7 separate regions of the Homo sapiens genome follow, and regions 1, 2, 4, 5, 6 and 7 are each linked to region 3. The links are contacts of gene promoters, found by promoter capture Hi-C in blood cells and fetal thymus (Javierre and others, 2016). All regions are on one chromosome and are shown on one strand. Each heading gives the region's core, a stretch centred on a gene start or on the middle of the fragment in contact. The rest is flanking DNA. Distances are from core to core; before and after follow the strand shown. Region 1 overlaps LINC02128 (long intergenic non-protein coding RNA 2128). Region 2 overlaps LINC02128 (long intergenic non-protein coding RNA 2128). Region 3 holds the start of BRD7 (bromodomain containing 7). Region 4 has its middle 55 kb from the start of CNEP1R1. Region 5 has its middle 7.5 kb from the start of LINC02128. Region 6 has its middle 6.0 kb from the start of LINC02168. Region 7 overlaps CYLD (CYLD lysine 63 deubiquitinase).

What was found. The method cuts DNA at HindIII sites, captures the fragments that hold promoters and counts their contacts. A CHiCAGO score of 5 or more calls a contact.
Region 1: a fragment that was not itself captured here is called in contact with the fragment with the promoter of BRD7 in region 3 in 3 of 17 cell types (non-activated CD4 T cells, activated CD4 T cells and total CD4 T cells); the score reaches 8.3 in non-activated CD4 T cells.
Region 2: a fragment that was not itself captured here is called in contact with the fragment with the promoter of BRD7 in region 3 in 1 of 17 cell types (total CD4 T cells); the score reaches 5.9 in total CD4 T cells.
Region 4: a contact is called between a fragment that was not itself captured here and the fragment with the promoter of BRD7 in region 3, in 5 of 17 cell types (neutrophils, monocytes, erythroblasts and 2 more). The highest score is 9.8, in neutrophils.
Region 5: a fragment that was not itself captured here is called in contact with the fragment with the promoter of BRD7 in region 3 in 10 of 17 cell types (non-activated CD4 T cells, total CD4 T cells, activated CD4 T cells and 7 more); the score reaches 20.0 in non-activated CD4 T cells.
Region 6: a fragment that was not itself captured here is called in contact with the fragment with the promoter of BRD7 in region 3 in 16 of 17 cell types (total CD4 T cells, non-activated CD4 T cells, total CD8 T cells and 13 more); the score reaches 43.2 in total CD4 T cells.
Region 7: a fragment that was not itself captured here is called in contact with the fragment with the promoter of BRD7 in region 3 in 17 of 17 cell types (non-activated CD4 T cells, naive CD8 T cells, total CD4 T cells and 14 more); the score reaches 40.0 in non-activated CD4 T cells.

What each region holds. Positions count from the first base shown.
Region 1 is chr16:50,847,650-50,850,550 of GRCh38, forward strand. The region is part of intron 1 of LINC02128 (long intergenic non-protein coding RNA 2128); the gene reads left to right. Among named protein-coding and RNA genes, the nearest start is that of LINC02128, 9.0 kb to the left of the region's middle. The HindIII fragment of the contact is 285 bases long and covers 1,476-1,760 here.
Region 2 is chr16:50,868,166-50,871,232 of GRCh38, forward strand. All of the region lies in intron 1 of LINC02128 (long intergenic non-protein coding RNA 2128), which reads left to right. It also overlaps the pseudogene RNA5SP426. Among named protein-coding and RNA genes, the nearest start is that of LINC02128, 30 kb to the left of the region's middle. The HindIII fragment of the contact is 1,347 bases long and covers 1,141-2,487 here.
Region 3 is chr16:50,367,161-50,370,407 of GRCh38, forward strand. It overlaps BRD7 (bromodomain containing 7), which reads right to left and starts at 1,828. Exons shown (of 17, transcript NM_013263.5): 1 at 1,566-1,828; 2 at 930-1,138. The coding sequence starts at 1,614. RefSeq lists silencers at 1,217-1,726, 1,757-2,006. The HindIII fragment of the contact is 8,339 bases long and covers 1-2,736 here.
Region 4 is chr16:49,968,591-49,971,831 of GRCh38, forward strand. It overlaps the pseudogene NCOA5LP. Among named protein-coding and RNA genes, the nearest start is that of CNEP1R1, 55 kb to the right of the region's middle. The HindIII fragment of the contact is 3,968 bases long and covers 1-3,241 here.
Region 5 is chr16:50,830,991-50,834,051 of GRCh38, forward strand. No RefSeq gene overlaps it. Among named protein-coding and RNA genes, the nearest start is that of LINC02128, 7.5 kb to the right of the region's middle. The HindIII fragment of the contact is 4,131 bases long and covers 1-3,061 here.
Region 6 is chr16:50,811,217-50,814,223 of GRCh38, forward strand. No RefSeq gene overlaps it. Among named protein-coding and RNA genes, the nearest start is that of LINC02168, 6.0 kb to the left of the region's middle. The HindIII fragment of the contact is 5,044 bases long and covers 1-3,007 here.
Region 7 is chr16:50,780,674-50,783,790 of GRCh38, forward strand. CYLD (CYLD lysine 63 deubiquitinase) reads left to right here. Exons shown (of 19, transcript NM_001378743.1): 10 at 573-738; 11 at 1,652-1,793. Among named protein-coding and RNA genes, the nearest start is that of CYLD-AS2, 21 kb to the right of the region's middle. The HindIII fragment of the contact is 1,122 bases long and covers 857-1,978 here.

The DNA.
Region 1 (2,901 bases), core at 368-2,867, 480 kb after region 3:
CATGTCTCTCTCTCTCTCTGTCTCTCTCTCTCCTTTTAAATTAGAGACAGGTTCTTTCTTTGTCACCCAGGCTGGAGTGCAGTGGTGTGATTGCTCATTGAAACCTCGAACTCCTGGGCTTAAGTGATCCTTCCACCTCAGCCTCCTGAGTAGCTGGTTCTATAGGAGGTGTGCACCACCACGCCTGGCTGGTTTTTTTTTTTTTTTTTTGGTTGTCGTTGTTGTTTTTGAGACAGGATCTCACTATGCTTCCCAGGCTGGTCTTGAACTCCTGGACTCAAGCAATCCTTCTGCCTTGGCCTTCCATAGTGTTGGGATACAGGCATGAGCCACTGTGCTCAGCCTCTTTTTGTCTCTGGAATCCTAAAACCCCATCATAGGGCCAGTCACAGACTTGATGGTCCATGCTCAGTAAGTGATTGTTTAAATGTCACTGGAGAAATCTGAGTTATAACTTCTTAAATGGCTTGGCTTTGATTTCAGCATTTTTAATTGTGCAAACAATATCATAGCAACAGCCATAAAAATAAAAGGCAAAAAAAAAGTCATTTGCAATTCCCCTAAAATTAAGGCCTTGTCCCATGCTTTTGTGTCTGTCTTCCCGAATGTATGTTTTGCAGTTGCATTTTCAGCCAGACGGCATTTTGTATCCTGTCTTTTTCTCCACTTCAAATACTACCAGGGCCAGGCATGATGGCTCACGCCTATAATCCCAGCACTTTGGGAGGCTGAGGTGGGGGAATCACTCGAGCCTAGGAGTTTGAGACCAGTCTGGGCAACACAGTGAGACCCCATCTCTAAAAATAATACTTTCAAGAGGACACATTTCTATCAAATACGTAAGACCTTTATTTTAGAGGCTGCGTATATTCCATGGGGTAGATGCACCCCTGATGGCTTAGAGGGGCTCTGACTTTTTGGACATTTGAATGTTTTCCAATTCTTTGCTGCTTCAGCCAACACTGCTGTGAATATCTGTTCATCAGGTGTTTTCACTGACCCCATACCTCTTCAGGAAGGATGGATCTCAAGACACTCTCAGAACTCCCACTTTGAATACAACATTCTAGTGTATCATGTCTCCTTCCCCCATCTCCCATGCTCAAGGAGAAAAATATTAGGGGGTCGTCTAAGTGCTGCTTCCATCACTAAAAGATTTAATCTTGTTATTAAAATAAGCTCTGTCACTTTTAAACTTTGCCTAAAGTTTTCCTTTTTATTTGATGAGTTATCTGCTCATATTTGGAGCCCTTTCTGAAACAGTCTCATGATTTGCTTTTCCCTGTTTCCATTTCAAGCGATGTGGACATAACATTGCTCAAGCCCAGGTTAACATCGGTTGTAGCTTTTAATTTATCCCATTGTTTACTTTCTTAAACTGCTTCTCTTTGTATTCCTTCTTGTATTCTCTTTGTTCCTACCAACAGCATTAGCAGTTGGCATTCTTTCTTGGGACTTTTTGTCATGGAGAAACAAGCTTTCAACTTTTCACGAGAATGGTCCTGTATAGGTAAATGAGTATTGAACAACCAAGACAGGTGGAGTCCTGGAGTTGGTGGGAGGTCCACTCTGCTCCCTCCAAACTGGGTGGCACAGGAGGCCTCTTTGTACCTCACTCAAATGGCAAATCAGCCACTTCATTGATCGCTCCAGTAGGAGGTGGTGTGTGGTGCCTCCCTGAAAGTTCAGAGCAGAGCATGTGTCTGGGAGGAAAGGTCAAAGCTCCTGTCCATGGCCCCTGTGCAACTGTGAGTGCCGTAAGCTTAGGGCCCACATCTGTCCTGCTGTGTGTTGCCAGGACCCAGCTCAGGGCCTGGCTTAGAGCAGATGCCCAGTGATTGATTGTTGAGTGAATCAGCGACTGATAGGAGAAGACTTCCAGGAAGAGCAGGCATCTGCACTGGGTCTTGTCAGGTGGAGTCTATGGAAGGGAGTGGGGAGGGAGGATGAAGACAGAAAGGGATTTCAGTAGGGCCTTGTTCAGCACATAGCACAGATTGTGTGTGTGTGTGTGCATGCGTGCACATGCGTGTGCATGGCTTGGCTTCAGTTCCACTTGGGGTTGGGTAGAGAAGTCATTCATTAATTCATTCAACAAATGTATTTAGCCCAACAAATGTTGGGAAAACCAACATTATCTCCTTTCAGTTCTCACCATGTGTCATGTACTGTGCCAGGGCACAGTTATTACAGGGCCTTCCTTGACAGTGAGAAGGGTCAGGCGTTGCCAAATCCAAGGTCATGAATATTTACTCCTATGTTTTCTTCTTAGAGTTTTATAGTTTTAGCTCTTACATTGAGGTCTTTGATCCATTTTCAGTTAATTTTTTTTGGGAGGGGGACGGAGTCTCGCTCTGTCACTGAGGCTGGAATGCAGTGGCACTATCTTGGCTCACTGCAACCTCTGCCTCCTGGGTTCCAGCGATTCTCCTGCCTCAGCCTCCCGAGTATCTGGGATTACAGGTGCCCACCACCATGCCCAGCTGATTTTTTTGTATTTTTAGTAGAGATAGGGCTTAACTATGTCGGCCAGGCTGATCTCGAACTCCTGACCTCAGGTGATCTGCCTGCCCCGGCCTCCCAAAGTGCTGGGATTACAGGTGTGAGCCACTGCACCCGGCCTAAATTTTTATATATAGTGTGAGGTAAGTGTCCGACTTCCCTCTTTTTTATGTAGATATCTAGTTGTCCCGGTACCATTTATTGAAAAGACTGTTCTTTCCCCATTGGATGGTATTGGCACCCTTATTAAAAATCAGTTGACCATAGATGTATAAGTTTACTTATAGATTCTCAATTCTCTTCCATTGATCTATATGTCTGTCCTTATACCAGGACCACACTGTCCTTGATTACTGTTGCTTGTAATAAGTTTTGAAGTCAGGAAGTGTGAGTCTACCT
Region 2 (3,067 bases), core at 564-3,063, 500 kb after region 3:
TTCAATTTTGTCTTTTTTCTCTCTCAAAATTGTTTTGGCTATTCAAGCTCCTTTGAATTTTGATGTAAATTTAGGAATCAACTTGTAAATCTATACAAAAATAAACTTTCTGGGATTTTGATTGAGACTGTCTTGAATATTTATATTAATTCTGGGACAATGGACATCTTAACAACATTGAGCTTTCAATCTATGAACATGGTATATCTATTTATTGAGGCCTGATTTCATTCCCCACAGCAAAGTTTTTTAGTTTTTGGTGTGGAGTTTTGTTCATATGTTGTTACATTTATTCCTTATTATGTTTTATATATTATGGCAATGGTATAATTTTTAAATTTATTTACAATAGTAGTATTTTATTTACTATTATATACAAATATAATTGTTTTTTGTATATTAACCTTGTTTCCTGCAATCTTATTCAATCCACCTCTTAGTTTGAATAGTATTTTTGGTAGGTTGCTTAGGATTTTTCTATCTAAACAATCATTGTCTAAGGCAGCTCAGGCTGTCAAAACAAAATACCATAAACTGGGTGGCTCAAACAACAGACATTGGCTGGGTGCCATGGCTCAGGCCTGTAAGGCCAGCACTTTGGGAGGCCAAGGTGAGTGGATCACCTGAGGTCAGGAGTTCAAGGCTAGCCTGGTCAACATGTTGAAACCCTGTCTCTACTAAAAATGCAAAAATTAGCCAGGCATGGTGGTGCACCTCTATAATCCCAGCTACTCAAGAAGCTGAGTGGGAGAATTGCTTGAACCTGGCAGGCAGAGGTTGCAGTGAGCCAAGATGGTGCCACTGCCTTCCAGCCTGGGCAACAGAGCAAGACTCCGTCAAACAAAAACAAAAACAAAAACAAGAAAACCTAGACATTTATTTCTCAGTTCTGGAGGCTGGTAACTGTATCACCAGATTTGGTTCTTGGTGAGGGCCCTCTTTCTGGCTTGCAAATGACTACCTTCTCTTTGTAGCTTCACATGGCAGAGAGAGGACACTGATATTTCTTCCTCTAAGAAGTGGTGGCAGTACTTATATGGGTACTAATCCCATCATAAGGGCTTCACCGTCCTGAGCTCATCTAAATCTAATTACCTCACAAAAGTCTCACCTCCTAATACTATCACATTGGGGGGTTGAAGCTTCAACATAGCCTCCTCCTCCTGAGGAGGAGACATAAATATTTAGTCAATAATAATAATGTAATCTAGAAATAAATGTAACTATTTCTTCTTGATATTTATGGCTTTCAATTAGTTTTCCTCTTCTTTAAAAAAAAATGTTTTTTAAGCCTACAGCACCCGGTATTCCCTTGAAGTCTCCCATCCAAGCACTAACCAGGCCTGACCCTGCTTAGGTTCATAAGATCAGATGAGATAGGGCATATTCATGGTGATATGGCTAATACACACACACACACACACACACACACACACACACACACACGATATTTTAGGACGAAAGATGTTGCTAAATAAATTCTTTTTCTTACCTCCATTGCACTGACAAAAATCCCCAATACATACTGAATAGAAATACTTAGAAGAGACATACTTGCCTTGTTCTCGATCTCTGCAAGGAAGTATTAAATATTTTGTCATAAGTATGATCCTTATTGTAGGTTTGTTTGTTTTTAGTTTCCTTTTATTACGTAGAGGAAAGTTTTCTTCTATTTCTAGTTTCTTGCTAGCTTTTGAGTGGGTGTTAAATTTGTTAAATGATTTTTATGAATCTATTAAGATGATCATATAGTTTTTCCTCTATTTTGTTAATGTGGTAAATTACATGGCTTGCCTTTCAAATATAAAATGAATCTTGCATGCAGAAATACATTTCATTTTGTTGACATAATGTATTATCCTTTTTATATATTGCTGTATTCTATTTGTTAATATTTTGTTAATGATTTGAACTTATGGATACGAGGGAGATTGTACATATTGTGCAATTTTCTTTTATTATAATATTGGCATCTAGATTTTTTGTGGTATCTTATCTTTTTATTGTGGTAAAATGAACATAACATAAAATTCACCATTTTAACTATCTTAAAGTGTACAATTCAGTGGCATTTAGAATTTGCATAATGTTTTGCAACCATCACCATGATCTAGTTCAAGATCATTTTCACCAACCCCAAAGAAAATCCTATATAACAACTCCTAATCCTTTTCTGCCTTTTGTCCTGTAGCAACCAGTAATATGTTTTCTGAACCTATGGATCTGTCTTTATATCCTAGATATTTCATACAAATGAATTATACAGTATATGGCTTTTGTGCCTAGTTCTCTCACTTAGCATCATAATGTTTAAGACATGTATCAATGTTGTAACTTGTATCAGGACTATATTACCTTTTGTGGTTGAGTAATATCCCATTATATGAATATCCCATATTTTGTTTATTTATTCATCAATTGATGAACATTTGGGTATTTTTACCTTTTGTCTATTGTGAATATTGCTACTATGAACATTTGTGTACAAGCTTTTGTTTGAAAACCTATTTCCAATTCTCTTGGGTATACACCTAGGAGTGGACGGGCTGGGTCAGACGGTAATTCGATGCTTAACTTATTGAAGAACTGCCAAACTGCTTTCCAAAGTGGCTGCACCATTTTACATTTCCACCAGCAGTTCATGAGGGCTTCACATTCTCCACATTCTCACCAAAACTTGTTATTTTCCATTTGTTTTATTATAGCCAACCTAGGGATAACTCATTGTAGTTTTGATTTGCATTTTGTTTATGATTAATGCCATTGAACATTATTTCATGTGCTTCTTGGGATTTTCTATATCTTCCTAAGAAAATGATTATTCAAGTCCTTTTCCCACATTTTGATTGAATTGTCTTTTGCTTGTTGAGTTATAAGATAATACATATTAGATACTATACTTAGCAGATATATTATTTGCAAATATTTTCTTTAATTTTTAAGATTTTTTATCGCTCTCTTGATAGTGTTCTTTGATGCAGAAAAGTTTCTAATTTTGATTAATTCCAATTTATCCATTTTTTTCTTTTGTTGCTTGTGTTTTCGGTATTATATCTAAAAAGCCATT
Region 3 (3,247 bases), core at 578-3,077:
AATAATTGATGTAATAAGTCGTTCAGTGGCAGGTTAAATTTGGAAAGTTAATAACAGTAATAACAATGTTATTATTATTAGAGACAGAGTCTCGTATTATTGCCCAGGCTGGAGTGCAGTGGTATGATCATACCTCACTGTACCTCAAACTCCTGGGCTCAAGGGATCCTCCCACCTCAGCCTCCTGAATAGCTGGGACACAGGTGCACACCACCAGGCTCTGGAAATTTTTGTAGTTTATTTTGCAGAGGCAGGGCCTTGCTATGTTGCCCAGGCTGGTCTCGAACTTCCAGCCTCAAGCAATCCTCCCACCTCGGCATTCCAAAGTGTTGGGATTACAAGTGTGGGCTACTGGGCCCAGCCATTAATTATTATTTTGCCCAGCTTTCAAACCAAGATGGTAGCTACTCATTCTTTTCTGTTAAATGCAAATGGTTAAGAATATCAATCTCCATTACAGGTTTCTGACCAAATTTTCTCAACACACTACAACACTGTTTTAAAAGATTTAAAGTTGCTCATTACAGATTTGGCATTATAATATTTATTTCAGAACAAACTTTAAACCCCAGTAGATCCCACTCGCTTCTGAAATGACTATTTTTGACAATCCTTGAACACTGAGGCTTTCTTGAGCATGACTTTTTACCCTGCCTAGATGGAAAAACCATTCTTTGAAGCAGCTCCTCAAAATTTGGACTTAGCTGCTTCCTCACCTGATGTGCGAGTACAATTGCCTAAGAGTATAATCCAAAAACGACTTGCTGAAACTCATAGATGATTCATGTCTCTATTCTGTCCTGCTCCTCCTCAAACGAGCCAGATCTTAGAGGCGTTTGTTTTCCCCAGATACAAAGAAAATAAAATGAGGTTGGCACCTGGAAGAGGCAGTGCCGTCCGCAAAGCCAAAGCAATGTAACCACTTGTACCTTAACTCTTCTCCGTTTTCTCCCCTTTTCTTCCCCTGGAATCTGCTTCTCTCCTTTCTTTCTCTTTTTCCGCTTTCTGTCCTTGTGTTTGTCATGATCGTTTTTGTCTTCGAAGAGGCTGGAGTCGTGCCCCGAGCTGCCCGTGGAGAGTTCGGTGACTTCGTTCCCTCCTACTTTGAGGACCAGCTTCAAGGGCTTCTCTACATACTCTTAAAAAAAGAAAAGAAAAGAAAGGAAAGCGCGTCGATTAAAATCGGGGCTCTCCAGGGAGTGCTAAGGATGCAGAGCGCCAAGGCGCAGCAAGCCCGAGGCGGCTTTGGGCGCTCCGCGAAGCACCTGTTGAATGACGGACCCCGGCCCGGGGGTGCGGCGGCGCCGCCCGCCCCGAACGCTCCCAGGCCTCCCGGGCCCGCCTCACGTCTCCCCACCAGAGACCCACCGGACCAGGGGGACCCGGGTTCGAATGCCGCGGCCGCACGGGGGGCAGCGCGGCCTCCGGCAGGACGCGCCCCCTTCGCCGGCCTGGGCCTGCCGTGGGAAGGAAGGGCCCCGGGCCGCCCCGGAGCCACTGGGAAAGAGCGGAAGCCCGGCAGAGCCGCCGAGGGCCCGCCGCCCGCACCCCGGCCCCCTCCTCACCCTCGTAGAGGTGTTTGTCCGACTTGTGCTTCTTGTGCTTCTTGCCCATGTCCGACCGGGCCCCGGTGCCCGCCCCCCGCGCCAGGCCCAGGCCGTGCGGCGCCGCTTCCGGTCCGGGCCAGGCGAGCGGAGGGCGGGAGCGGGGCCCGCGAGACCCCGCGCCGCGAGGCAGGGGGGCGGCGCGCGCCGGGCGGCGCGATGCCCCTCTCGAGAAGACGGCGCGCGAGACCCGGCCGGAGCCCGAGAGCGGCGGCGGGGGGGGCGCGCGGCCGGCGCAGAGGCGGGAAAGAAGGCCCGCCGCGCGCACAGGGTGCCGGCGGCTGCGGGTGGCGGCCCCTGGCGACCGGAGGTGGTGCTGCAGCTCGCGGGCCGGGGGCGGGGCCGAGGGCGGGGCCGGGGCGGGATCCACCGCTCAGACTCTCGTCTTTCTTCCTTCCTCCCTTTCCCCTCAATTTGTCTGTCTTGTCTCTGTCTCTGTGTGTCTCTCCCTCCGTCTCCACTTCCCTCCCTTCTTTTTACTCCCTCCCTCTCTTTCTTTCTCTTTCCCTTCTTCCCTTCCTTCCTCCTTCCTTCCTTTCTTTCTTCCCTCCTTACTGCCTCCCTTCAAGCCTTCCTTCTCTCTTTTCTTCCTCCCTCATCACCCTTCCTTCTCCTCTTCCCGTCTCCTTCCCTCTTTTTTTCTTTTCTTTTTTTCCCCTTCCTCCTTCCCCCACTCTTCCTTTCTTTCCACTTTCCCTTGCTTCTGTTTCTTCCCTTTTACGATATTGACTGAACCCCATACTGGGTGCCAGACCCAGCAAACTCAGCACATTGGTGACTGAAGATTCTAATCTTAAAAAAAACTTATGTGCTGATAGGTGAAGGTTACCAGACGTTTTGACTGTCTTTACTTCTAGCTGTATGGTGCTTTGTCTGTTTTCAGATAAGCTCGTAATTATAGTCTCCTCTTAAGAAAGGATCTGTTATCAGTCATTTATACTTTAGTAACAATTTAGACCCATGAATCACCTCTCCCAGGAAGATTTGTAGCTTTACCTTGAACTTCAGTGGTGAAATTATAGGCTTATATTTTAGGACCCTATTGTTGGCAACTAATAGAAACCAATTTGAATTATTTCAAGTAAATAAAAAGGGATTTATTGGTTTACATGTCTAGAAAGGGCAAGAATAAAGCTTGCCAGAGGGAAGACAGGAACCAAGGATGTAATGCTGTTGACTGGCATGCCAGCTCGCTCTCTCTCTTGTCTCTCTGTATATCGGTCTCCATCTCCCCCCTTCTTTCCTATATGGCTGGAAACATGGCCACCATCTGCTTCTGAGGCCTCTTCTTTATAGTGTCCTGACCAACTGGGAAAAAGATCTCTTCCTGTCAGCTTCACCTGGAAAACAGTCCCAGGGAAGGACTCTGATTGGCTTGGCTTGTGTCACATGTTTTATGGGACAGGGGATGGGAGATTGATTCGGCCTGGATGCCAAATCTACCCCCTCACCCCCTTGGCCAAGAGAAGTGGAGTCTGTGATTGGCAGCTCCTGCCAGACTTCTATGGTTAGCCAGGGAAGATGAGGTTCTTCTAATGAAGAGAGTTGCTTTTTCATGAAAGCTAAAAGTGTGTGTCTATTATTTCCCTGTAACAAGCCTCTCTGGTGTCCGTGAGGCAGAGATCAGGGTGTGGGAAGAGGGG
Region 4 (3,241 bases), core at 271-2,770, 400 kb before region 3:
AAGTGCTGGGATTACAGGCATGAGCCACGGCGCCTGGCCAACAGGATTCTTACTGAAGGGAGAGCACCAGGGTCGCCGCTCCGGTTGTCTTCATTCCCTTTTGAAGAATCAGCCACATTTCCCCCGTAATCCCTCAATGCTGTTAAATATGCATTGAAATTATTTTTCAATATTTCATAAAATATTCATAATTTCATAACTGAAAAATATGAAAATATTTTTTCAAATATTTTGCGGATGTATTTTCCCCTCTAAGTGTACCCCCAAAAGCCAAAAAGCAAATACCAGATCACCCAGCGCAATCTATAGTCACTAAAGCCTGTGTCTATCTGCAGGTAAATGTCGCTCCATAGTCTGCTCTGCTCTTATTTTAGTGTTTTATAAATTTCTAGGATTTTCTGCCCTTTCCATTTGTTTCCTCTTGCCCATGGAGATGAAAAGTGCTATATGGAGCCACTGATCTTTGTTATAGATTAGATAGAAAGATAGCTAGAGCTATATATTCACACTTTAAGGTGTTTAGTCCAAAGGGTTTGAGATAATTTTATCAGAAGCGTTCATCTTTAAAATTGGGGATGCTCCTCTTGGAAGGTCTTCATTGGATATGGATATGAGTAAAGAATGAGTGAACAAGATCTGCTCCCTTTACTTATAAACGCTCCACAGCGCCTGTGAGCAGGCTATTTTCCCTTGCTAAAGACATGCAAAATAGTGCACAGATGCTGGGTCATCTATCAGCTGTCTAAATAGTCCCTTTTGCTGTGATTTAACAGAAGAAAGGGAGAAGTAGATGTACGCTGTACCCTAAATCAGGCATTTTTACTGTGGCTCCCCAGGATCCAGACACCAATGTTTCTGTCCACAAGGAATGTCCTGACAGGGACTGAACCACGCTGGCGGGCAGCAATTAGCTGTTATCTAGCAAGAGGCGTCAGGCTGCACGGCGAGGCGGCCCCGAAGTGCACTCCGCAAACCATGACTACTCAGCAAGCTGCCTGCGAGCGTTCGTCCCTGTGCTTCCCCCCTTTCCGATGTTTATTCGGGTTGCTGTCCACAGCCAGCCTCCCAACAGACATTTCCAAGCAAAGCTCTTGCCTGAGTCCATGCCTCCCGCTACTGCCCTGAGAATCCTGAGCTGCACACAATGCTTCCCTCTCCGGAGCAGGCTTCATTTGTCTATTTGTCTTTGACCAACACCGGCCATTGATTCTAGAGGCCGTTCTGTAAGCCAACTGCTTTTCCTAACCCTTGCTGCCTTTTGTTCTTGCTGGCTTTCCCTCACACTTTCTACACTTTCTTTTGTTGTTATCATTGTTGTTTTTAGAGACAGGCTCTTGCTCTGTTGCCCACAGCCTGGGCACGATCAGTAGCGCGATCCTGACTCACTGTAGCCCAGAACTCCTGGGCTCAAGGGATCCTCCCACCTTAGCCTCCCAAGCAGGTGGGAGTATGGGTGCACGCCACCATACCTAGCTAATCTTTTTATTTTTTGTAGAGATGGGGTCTCACTAAGTTGCCCAGGCTGGTCTCAAACTCCTGGCTTCAAGTGATCCACCCACTTCAGTCTTCCAAAGTGGTAGGATTACAGGCATGAGCTACCATACCTGGCCATAGACACTTTCTTTTAATGAAGTGGTAGGTAAACACCACCACCACCAAACAATTAGAGGTGACTGTGAGGAGCCTGGGAAGCCAGTACCTGGTCATCCAGGGAAGGCAGCCTAATGTTGACAATGCAATTGGGTTTGAATCTCAGCTCTGTCGCTTACAAGCTGAGTAGCCTTGATTAAGTTACTTGACATCATCATGACTATTTCCTCACCTGTAACACGGGGATTATTAATCGACCCTACCTCTTAGTGCTATTATGAGATTGAATGAACTAATACAGGCAATATCCTCAGAATGGTGCCTGATGCAGTGTGGGCCCTGAGTCAGTGTTGGCCATTGTGATCCATCTCTGCCTTTAGGTTTCTTTCAGGTCAAGGCTAAGAAGATCTCCTTCAGAAGACCACCCAACAGTGCAGGTATTCCAGGTCTCATCTTCAGGAAATGTTACTGAGAAGAACTAACCTCCATGAACAGTCACTCCTGAATTCTACACTTCCAAGTGCTTCCGCAGTCGAGGAAAGCATTTTTCAATTCTGAATTATTAATCTAATCTGACACAAATCTCATCTTTAATGCAAGTGAGAGAGAGGCCCTGTCAAGGTTCATATATATAAAAATCAATTCAAATACAGTTCAAGGAAAACTGTTTTTACCAAAACTACAGAGAAAGATTTAAGGCAAGAATCTTAAACTGCCATGTTGATTTACCCATGTAGTTACTTAGAGGAACTTCACTGCTGAATATAAAAGCCAGAGTAAACAAAATAAAGTCGCCTTCAAAAGTGATTTATATACTCGAGGCCAGGTGTGGTGGCTCATGCCTATAATCCCAGCACTCTGGGAGGCCGAGGCAGGCAGATCACTTGAGGTCAGGAATTCAAACCAGCCTGGCCAATATGGTGAAACCCTGTCTCTACTAAAATACAAAAATTAGCCAAGTGTGGTGGTGCATGCCTGTAGTCCCAGCTACTCAAGAGTCTGAGGCAGGAGAATAGCTTGAACCTGGGAGGAGGAAGTTGCAGTGAGCCGAGATCGCACCCCTGCATTCCAGCCTGGGCAATAGACTGAGACTCCGTCTCAACTTAAAAAAGAGAAAAAAAAGTGATTTACATACTCGAGAATGCTACGCAGTGGTTACAAACAATGAGGATGAAGACTCCTTCATGATACACAGTTAAGTGAAAGAAACAAGTCCAGGACAATATGCCAGGGCCAGCCATTTCAGTTAAAAAAAAAAAGGGTGGGGGGAAATGGGAGAGTGGGAGAGTTCTGAAAAGGGATTTTTATTTTATCTTTTTATTTTTTGTAGAGACAGGGTCTCACTATGTTGCCCAGACTGGTCTCAGACACCTAGCTTTTGATCTTCCCTTTTTCATTTTTGTTAAGACCCTTTTCGTTCAAGGGTCTGCTATGGATAACCCACTTTTTATTATTACATGCTCTTATAGATCTATCCATTCCTGGGGTAAAAAAAAAAATCCAGTTTTAAGTGACTTATATTTTTATTTGGCTCTGGAGTTCTGATTTGTATCACAATAGAATACATTTACATTCTTGAGCATATACCAATGGTTAGAGGGTAGCAAAATCAAGAGGGTGAGGTGTGAGGGTGTGGAGGAAGGGATTCAAG
Region 5 (3,061 bases), core at 500-2,999, 460 kb after region 3:
CAGCAGATACGGAGGAGGCCAGTGCTGCTTTATAAAAATCCTCATTTGGGGCTTCTTGGATAGTCTCCTAACAGGGTGGACAGGCCGCTTCTGCAGACCCAGAGGACCCAAAGTTCTCAAGTACATGTACTCAAATGCACTTACCCCAAGTTCCAGATTCCTGCAGCTTCTCCATCAGAGGTCTGACTTTGGTGTAGAAAACTTGCCTAGGCTTAGAATTAGAATTTAAATTTCCTTAAAGTTGCAACTCTTATCCTTAAGTCCTTTCCTCATATCCTTAAGGCCAGGGCCTGGGAGCCAGCTGTCTGCCTCCCCAGCTGTGGGAGATGAGAGTTTCTATAATGCTGGCAATGGGGCTCTCAGACCCTCATGTTTTGCTTCACATTGTGATTGATGGCCCTGAGTCTGTCTTTTCCTCTTCTTAAGGCATGATTGGCATTCACTGGTGGGCACCCAATTCTACAGTCTTTATAAGAACTCTTTTTCCCATACCTCTCAAACATCAAAGCTCTTGCACAGGGCAGTGCACCTTTTCCACCTGTATCCCATGCCCTGGGTGTATTACAGGTAGAATCTTAGCAACAATCACTGCCTGCCATTTACCACTGTACACTAAGCACCGGTGATGGGGCTATGATTTCTAGCCATCTAGGGACTTCAGAATCCTATCCTTCTCATCTATTTCCTAGGATCACTCCTGGTGCCAAATATATTAGCTTGGGTTCCCTAAAAGCAGAGCTTGAGAAAGGAATTCAAGGAGCACATGATTAATCAGGGGAGTTTTTCAGGAAAATCCTGTAAGGGAGGGAATTAGGCACAATAAGACAAGGGAGAGAGCAGAACAAGGAAGCAAACCTCAAGCAAAGCCCAGTCTTGGTCTGAGCCATGGTGATAAGAGCCCTGAAGCTCTGAATCACATTGATCAGTCAGTCATTAGCTGTGGGCTGCCCTTGCTGTGTGTTGGGGTCCAACTTCCAGGTCATGGTCCCTGTCATGAGCTGAAGGCAATTCTCCAGGGAAGGGTGCAGCTGGTGCAAACTCACTGGAGTCCAGAAAGGCGATCTGGGAGGGGAAAAACAGCATCCTACAGACCCCAGGTAATTCATAGCCTCCATAATTCACAAGTTCTTTCTCCATGAGGTGGTAAGTGGCAATTTTATATTCTTGGAATGCCACATACCTATAATGATAGTAATTTTTTTCAGCAATGTTTCTGACATTTTTACAGAGCATGCACTTCTAAATTAGTGACACACCATGGTGATGTTTGGCCTTCTTCAGAATAACTTTATCCTTTCCCTTCTCTGGCCCAGAGCTATTGATTTTTAGGTGGTTATTTTATTTTATTCTTTTTTTTTTTTTTGAGACGGAGTGTCTCTCTGTCACCCAGGCTGGAGTGCAGTGGCACAATCTTGGCTCACTGCAACCTCTGCCTCCTGGGTTCAAGCGATTCTCCTACCTCAGCCTCCCGAATAGCTGAGATTACAGGTGTGTGCCACCACACCTGGCTAATTTTTTGTACTTTTAGTAGAGACAGGGTTCCACTGTGTTAGCCAGGATGGTCTCCATCTCCTGACCTTGTGATCCACCCACCTCGGCATCCCAAAGTGCTGGGAGCCACTGCGCCTGGCCTATTTTATTCCTTTTCTTAGCACAAACTCTAGCACAACCACGACCCTTGAATCAATGCTTGGATAATGTTCCTAGAAGATTACAAAATATTTTGAATCACAAGATCAGTTAATGTTAAAGATAATATGCACTAGTCACCAAAGATACTGTTGGAAGTTGTGATAGGGGAACAATAGCATGGGTCACACAATAATGACAAAGGACAGCACGTCCTTCTTTTCACCAGCTAGAGGCATTGCCATGTTGCACTTGGAAATGCAGTTTCAACTCACCAGCCTACCAGTTTGAAAGTTATGGAATTCTTGATGAGTTGCCAAGTTATGCAATTCTTGATGAGTTGTCAATCCCCCCATTTGGGAGGATTTCACATTTTGTATGTAACATGAGGACATTATTATTTTTATATTACGTAGTTTCAAAATCACATCATTCAAATGCACATGTGGTGTTGTGTTCTAATACTTTTCTGGATTTGTCTTTTACATTTAGCTTCTTAATCCAGTAGGAACTTACTTTTATATATGATGTGAGGTAGGGATCCAACGTTTTCTTTCTGTTTTCCAATGGAACTCCAGATGTCACAATCTCATGTATCGGAAACACCATAATTTTCTTGATTTTTCCTATAAATAGCCTTCCATTCTAGACTTTCTATTCTGCTTCTTTGATTTCTTTGCCTGGTCTTATCAGCTTCATGTTCTTGTATCCACTTAATGGTCTCTTTTAAAATTTGGTAGAATATGCAAACACTTGTTTTTCTTTTTCAAATTTTTCTTGTCTATTCTCTTGAATTTTCTTTTTCAAATGAATTTTAGTGTCGACTTGCCCAGTTTCATAAAAAATCCTGTAGGGATAGTGGTTGGGATGGTATTGAATTTATAGTTTAATTTGAGGGGATTTGACATTTTTACAATATTGAGTGTTTCCATCCAGGTGTTTGGTTATGCCTTTCCATTTATTCAGGTCTTCTTTTATGTCCCACAGTAAATTTTTATAGTTTTCTTCACATAGGTCCTGAACGTTTCTTGGTAGGTTTATTCCTAGGTATTTTATATATATTTTTTGTTTTCATTGTGAATGAGACTAGAGGGTTTCTGGGATTGTACTTACATCATAACAGGATTGTTTATGCGTGGAGAAAAAGAAATGTTTCTTGCTCCTGAATGAAGGTGCCTGTACCTCACTGTGGCAAATCAGTGGATAAAACTGATTGCAGATGCGGGTTCCCTTTTTTTACTGTGCAATCCTTCAGTTTTGACCTGGACCTGGAGCTAAATGCTGCTGCAGTCTCCTGTTTGGGTATGGGGGTGGGTGTCGGCTCCATTGGTTCCAATGAAAACCAATTCTGAACACAGTTATTTTGCTAATTTCTCTGCCAATCGCTCCACCCCCTCCTCTTTGTATTTGTTTACTCTGAACCCAAGTACCC
Region 6 (3,007 bases), core at 171-2,670, 440 kb after region 3:
TATGGTTCTCATACTGATGGAAAGGGGCATTGCTGACAGTTTGGGGCTACTACACATGACCCTACTGTGATCCTTCTTGAATTGGTGGATTTTAGCTTTAGGAGAGACAGCTGCAGACTTTTCCAAAGTTTACACTCCTTCCTTCTTTCATTATTATTTTTTAACCAACTCCACTGAGGTGTAATTTACATACAGTAACATACACATATTTTAAGTAAGCAGTTAGATGAGTTTTGACACATTCATGAATTTATTTTTTATGAGACCAGGATCTCACTATGTTGCCCAAGCTAGTCTCGAACTCCTGGGCTCAAGCGATCCTCCTGCCTCAGCCTCCCAAGTATCTGGGACTACAGGCATGCACCACCATGCCCAGCCAATTTTAAAAATTTTTCGTAGAGAAGGTGATCTTGTTATGTTGCCCAGGCTGGTCTTGAATTCCTGACCTCAAGTGATCCTCCTGCCTGGGCATCCGGAAGCTCTATTACAGGCATGAGCCACCACTCTGGGATCTGACAAACTTTCTGTAGTGTTGAAGTTCAGTGACTTGGAGTAGTCACCTCCAGCTCAAGGTGCATGTGCCTGTGTGTTTTCTCCTTTTTTTGATAAAACCCAGGCTCAGCACAGGGTCGAGAAAAAGACTGAAAGTCAGCCCAGAAAGCAGTGTAGAAAGTAGAAAGCTAGTCTGGACTACCATTAGCATCAAGGACCTCAGTCACTGGAGCCATTGAGATGGGTCCACCCCTTCTCCCTCTCTTTCTCTCTCTCTCTTTTTCTTTCTTTAATTCATTAGCAAGAGGGTCTGTCTCACTATGTTGCCCAGGCTGGAAAACCTGGGCTCAAGCAACCCTCCCATCTCAGCCTCCCAGTCCCAGCTCAATCTTTCTTTTTAAAGTTGGAGAATTTTCTAAAGTTCTCCAACTTTAAAGGCTGCTGCCTAGGGAGGCAGGGCTGCACCCACGGGCAGAGTTAGAGGCAGAGCTGGAACAGAACCCCAGCATGGGAAGTCCGTGTTCACGGGGGGCCATTTCACCCTGGGACATTGTAGGGCAGCTCGAGGCTCTGACTAGGGAGGCCCAGCGCCTGGGGCTGGCGCTTGGTCCGAGCTCTGCAGGCTTTCCTGGGTGGAGAGGAGCCTCTTCCTGCCATGCACACCAGGCCTTCCTTAAGTGACTCAAACACCAATCTTCCTTGGGCTTCCTGAACTGTGAGGATTCCACAGTCTGGCAGGGCTGGTGGCCTCAGCCGTACACTCTGCAGCCAAGAGGGCTCTAGCTCCTGATTCCACCCTGTCCCTCAGCGGCTCCCCAGTGCTCTTCCAGGCCTTAGGCCTGCACCATCCCCACCTCTCCCTCCTCACCAACCTGCCACCTCCTGCCTCAGGTGGACACACTCAGGAGGAAGTCAAGCCTGTCCCTATACAAAAGCCATATTCCCAGGCACTTGCCTGAGTAGAGACGAAGTCTCAGCTCCTTCTACGTGAGCCCGAGGTGCCCACGGTCCCCACACCCCCTCCAGGAGTCCTTGCATTTGCGCAATGCTTTATACTCATCTGTCAGCTCGGCAGTGGGTCCCCCAGAGGGTGAAAACCACATTGTCCCTGTCTCATCAGCAACCAGAACAGGGGGCACCAACTGTGGCCTCCTCCCATATTTGTCGGGAGACTGAATGATTCTCAGGAAGCTGCGCGGCCACCGGCCATTTCACATGGGCATTTCCAAGCTGGGTGCTTTTTGCACCATGCTATTTTGGGCGGGAAGACTTTTCCAGTCCCTTTCTCCTTGGCATGCCACAGAAGAATTTCCTTCACCCACATCTGGATCATCTAGAATTACCCAGTTCAGCCTGTTGCTTTCAATGGCAAACGTCCAGTGCATGGTGTTGGCTCATTTTCATCCCCACTGTCTAGGAGCCCTTGAGCCTTGAGCTTTGGTTCACTATGGGCAGTCTCTTCCCTCCAGGCCTTGGCTAGAGCCAGGCAGGGACAGTGCCCACTCAGGGGCCGATCCACCTCGCTGGGGGCCACCAGTTCGAGCTGGGTGCTCTGTGAAACCAGTCATACCCAAGCTACTGGACTCTGGTCACTCCATGATCCTTGGCAAGATGTCTGTCTATGAACCGCAGTCCCTCTATCTGTAAAATGAAGGATCCTAGACTGGGACTCTCAAGCTCACTTGCCTACAGGGGCCAGGCAGGTACCTTAGGGAAGGGAGAAGGTTGGAGTGTTGGTGGAGAGCTGATATGGTAAAGGAAAGGAAGAAGCAGGCCAGTATATTCTGATTTTTTTTTTTTTTTTTGAGACGGAGTCTCGCTCTGCTGCCCAGGCTGGAGTGCAGTGGTGCGATCTCAGCTCACTGCAACCTCCACCTCCCGGGGTCAAGCAGTTCTCTGCCTCAGCCTCCTGCGTAGCAGTGAGTGCCACCATGCCTGGCTAATTTTTTTGTATTTTTAATAGAGACAGGGTTTCGCCATCTTAGCCAGGCTTGTCTTGAACTCCCGACCTCGTGATCCACCCGCCTCGGCCTCCCAAAGTGCTGGGATTACAGGCGTAAGCCACCGCACCTGGCCTATGTTCTGATTTTTCAGACGAAGTCAGAAATTTCTAAGAGAAGCAAAAGTTCCTGATCTGTACAAATCTGGCAACTTTTCTTTTTTTTAACTCTGTATGTGCCAGACGCGTTTAAGCCAGAGCAGCTCCATCTTGAATAAGGGCTGGGTAAAATGAGGCTGAGACCTACTGGGCTGCATTCCCAGCAGGTTAAGGCATTCTAAGTCACAAGATGAGCTAAGAGGTCGGCACAAAATACAGGTCACAAAGACCTTGCAGATAAAACAGGTTGTGGTAAAGGAGCCGGCCAAAACCCACCTAAACCAAGGTGGCGACAAAAGTGACCTCTGGTTGTCCTCACTGCTCATTATGAACTAATTACAAAGTATCATCATGTTAAAGACACTCCCACCAACGCCATGACAGTTTACAAATGCCATGGCAACATCTGGAAGCTAC
Region 7 (3,117 bases), core at 168-2,667, 410 kb after region 3:
ATGCTTGGTAATTTTTTGTATTTTTAGTAGAGACAGGGTTTTGCCATGTTGCCCAGGCTGGTCTCAAACTCCTGGACTCAAGTGATCTGCCCGCCTTGGCCTCCTAAAGTGCTAGGATTATGGGCATGAGCCACCACACCTGGCCAATTTAAATATATTTCTTTTTTTTTTTTTCTTGTTTGTTTCCATGCTAGTGAATACTATCTTATGGGGCATGGTGGGGAGGCAAGAATGAGGGTTAAAATAAATAGCCTTCTCCTTCCCTGCCTGTTTTAATGCTTGTAGAAATGGTGCGGGAAAGCCCGTTTAACCAGGGGAGGTTGAAGCATATATTCTGAAAGGAAATACAAGAAGGACTTCATGCTGGATTAAGGAAGTCACTTCTTAAATCAGTAGCTGTGGGCTGAAGCACTGATTACTCAACTCCTTTTTCTTGATGAGGTTCTCAGTACAGGTGCGAAGAGGGAGTGGTGAGAAAGGGTATACTAGAAACAGGTCTTAGAAACCTTAGTTCTTTGTATACTATCTCTGTAAGGCACGGTATAATGCATATTGAAGCATTTCTTTTTCAGGAAGATGAGTGTGCAGGCTGTACGGATGGAACCTTCAGAGGCACTCGGTATTTCACCTGTGCCCTGAAGAAGGCGCTGTTTGTGAAACTGAAGAGCTGCAGGCCTGACTCTAGGTTTGCATCATTGCAGCCGGTTTCCAATCAGATTGAGCGCTGTAACTCTTTAGGTATTTGGATGCTTTTTGTTTACTTAACAACCTGGAATGACTCTAATTCTAATCTCATATCATGTTATATTAGGTGATGGTGACAGTGTTTTAATATATTTCTTGCCAACGCTCATTAAGCTTTAAATCAGTAAAAATGTTGCATGGTGTATAAGAAAGTTGTTTTAAGAGGGGACATCTTAAAAAAGTATTAGGACGTGCGTTTGGGACTTATAAAGTGAATAATAGTGTGGTTTGTTTTTCTCTTCCTGTTGATGACAGACATTTAGTTTTCAGCAATACTAGTGGTAGAAATTGAAATGTAACCTTCTTTTTTTTTTTTACTGACTTCCCTCACAGTGTCTTGTTTACAGCAGTGAGTGTATCTTACAAAGAAATCAGCATTTTAGTGTAAGAAGTAGATTTCAACTGATTGCTGGAGGACAGCTCTCCTCATCATGTGTAATTGGTGGCAGTTTCCTGGTGCTGTTCCTTTCCACTTCTACATAATAGTGGAAAAGCATCTTGGGGCTTCAGCAGGTGCAAACAGGAAAGCCATCTTTATGAAAAACACTCTTATTATGTTGAAATAGTACTTTGGAATTTTCATTTTCTTTTCAAACTTGAAAGTGAAGCAACTTCAGATAAATAGTGAAATATTTGGGAAACATATTTTACTTGACAGATGCTTTTTACACATAATACTCTAAAGTGTGTTTTTAAATCTTGGAGGAAATGAAGTTGAAAATGAACAATAGCAATTTTTATAAGCCAAGTCAAATAGCAGTTAACCAAAGCCTACTTTCCACTTAAAGAAAAAATTTTGCATCAAAATACAAAAACATTTTAAAATGAAAAAATATTTATGGGAATACATATTGTAATAGTTTAAAAGAATTCTTTTCATTTACTTTTTTTAAAAAAATCTTTTCAGCATTTGGAGGCTACTTAAGTGAAGTAGTAGAAGAAAATACTCCACCAAAAATGGAAAAAGAAGGCTTGGAGATAATGATTGGGAAGAAGAAAGGCATCCAGGGTCATTACAATTCTTGTTACTTAGACTCAACCTTATTCTGGTAAGTTTAAAAAGAATGCAATAGGTATAGATAGTGCCATGAGGCAGGGACACATACCGGTGTGTGTGTGTGTGTGCGTGTGAGTGTGTGTGAAAGAAACTGCCATCTGCCTCTGAGTAGAGAAACTGGATGACTGTGGGTCAGGATTGAAAGGGAGATTTGCTTTTTATGACATACTCCTTTTAAGCTTTTGAATGTTGTCTCATGTTTCTGTGTCCAGAAAGGTGAATGATATTGGTACAATGGAATAGATATACAGAGGGTATCTGGGAAATCTTTGTGCATGTCTCAAACAACATAACTTGCAGTAAAGCCATTGGCTGTTATGTGCTGTATTTCTTTTAGTAGGTAAAGGCAGTCATAAAACTACTGTCTTTAAAAAAACGATTTTCAGTAGCAGCACTGCTGCCCTCATATATGCAATTTTTTCCAAAGTGGAACAACTTAAGATTTTTTTTTTTTTTTTTTTTTTTTTTGAGACAGAGTCTCACTCTGTCCCCCAGGCTGGAATGCAGCGGCACAATCTGGGCTCATTGCAACCTCTGCCTCCCAGGTTCAAGCGATTCTCTTGACTCAGCCTCCTGAGTAGCTGGGATTACAGGTGTGAACCACCACTTCTGGCTAACTTTCTTTTTTGTATTTTCAGTAGAGACGGGGGTTTCACCACGTTGGCCAGGCTGGTCTCGAACGTCTCACCTCAAATGATCTACCCGCCTTGGCCTCCCAAAGTGCTTGGGATTACGGGCATGAGCCACCACGCCCAGCCTTAACATTGCAAGGATCTTTAAGCTCTGGAAATTGAACCAAGAATCTTTAGGCTCTGAGGATTGTAGACTGGGCTAAATTGAGAGTAGCCTGCCAGTTCTGTAGCCATATGATAAGAATTAGGAAGTTAATATGGGATGTTAACATTTTTAAAGTAGGAAGAAGAATAAAGTGGCGGCCATTTTATTTGCAGAATACTTTGACAAAAACAAACCTTGTAGCATTGATATAATATTCTTTAGATTTCCTGATAAAAATCTATATTAGCTAAATTTTCTTTTTCTTTGATAACAGCAAGTTACTGCTGTCACTCGTTTATTTTTTTGAGAAGGAGTCTCGCTGTGTCGCCCAGGCTGGAATGCAGTGACGTGATCTCGGCTCACTGGAACCTCCACCTCCCGGGTTCAAGCGATTCTCCTATCTCAGCCTCCCAAGTAGCTGGGACTTCAGGTGCACTCCATCATGCCTGGCTAATTTTTGTATTTTTAGTAGAGACGGGGTTTCACCATATTGGTCAGGCTGGTCTCAAACTCCTGACCTCAGGTGATTCACCCGTCTC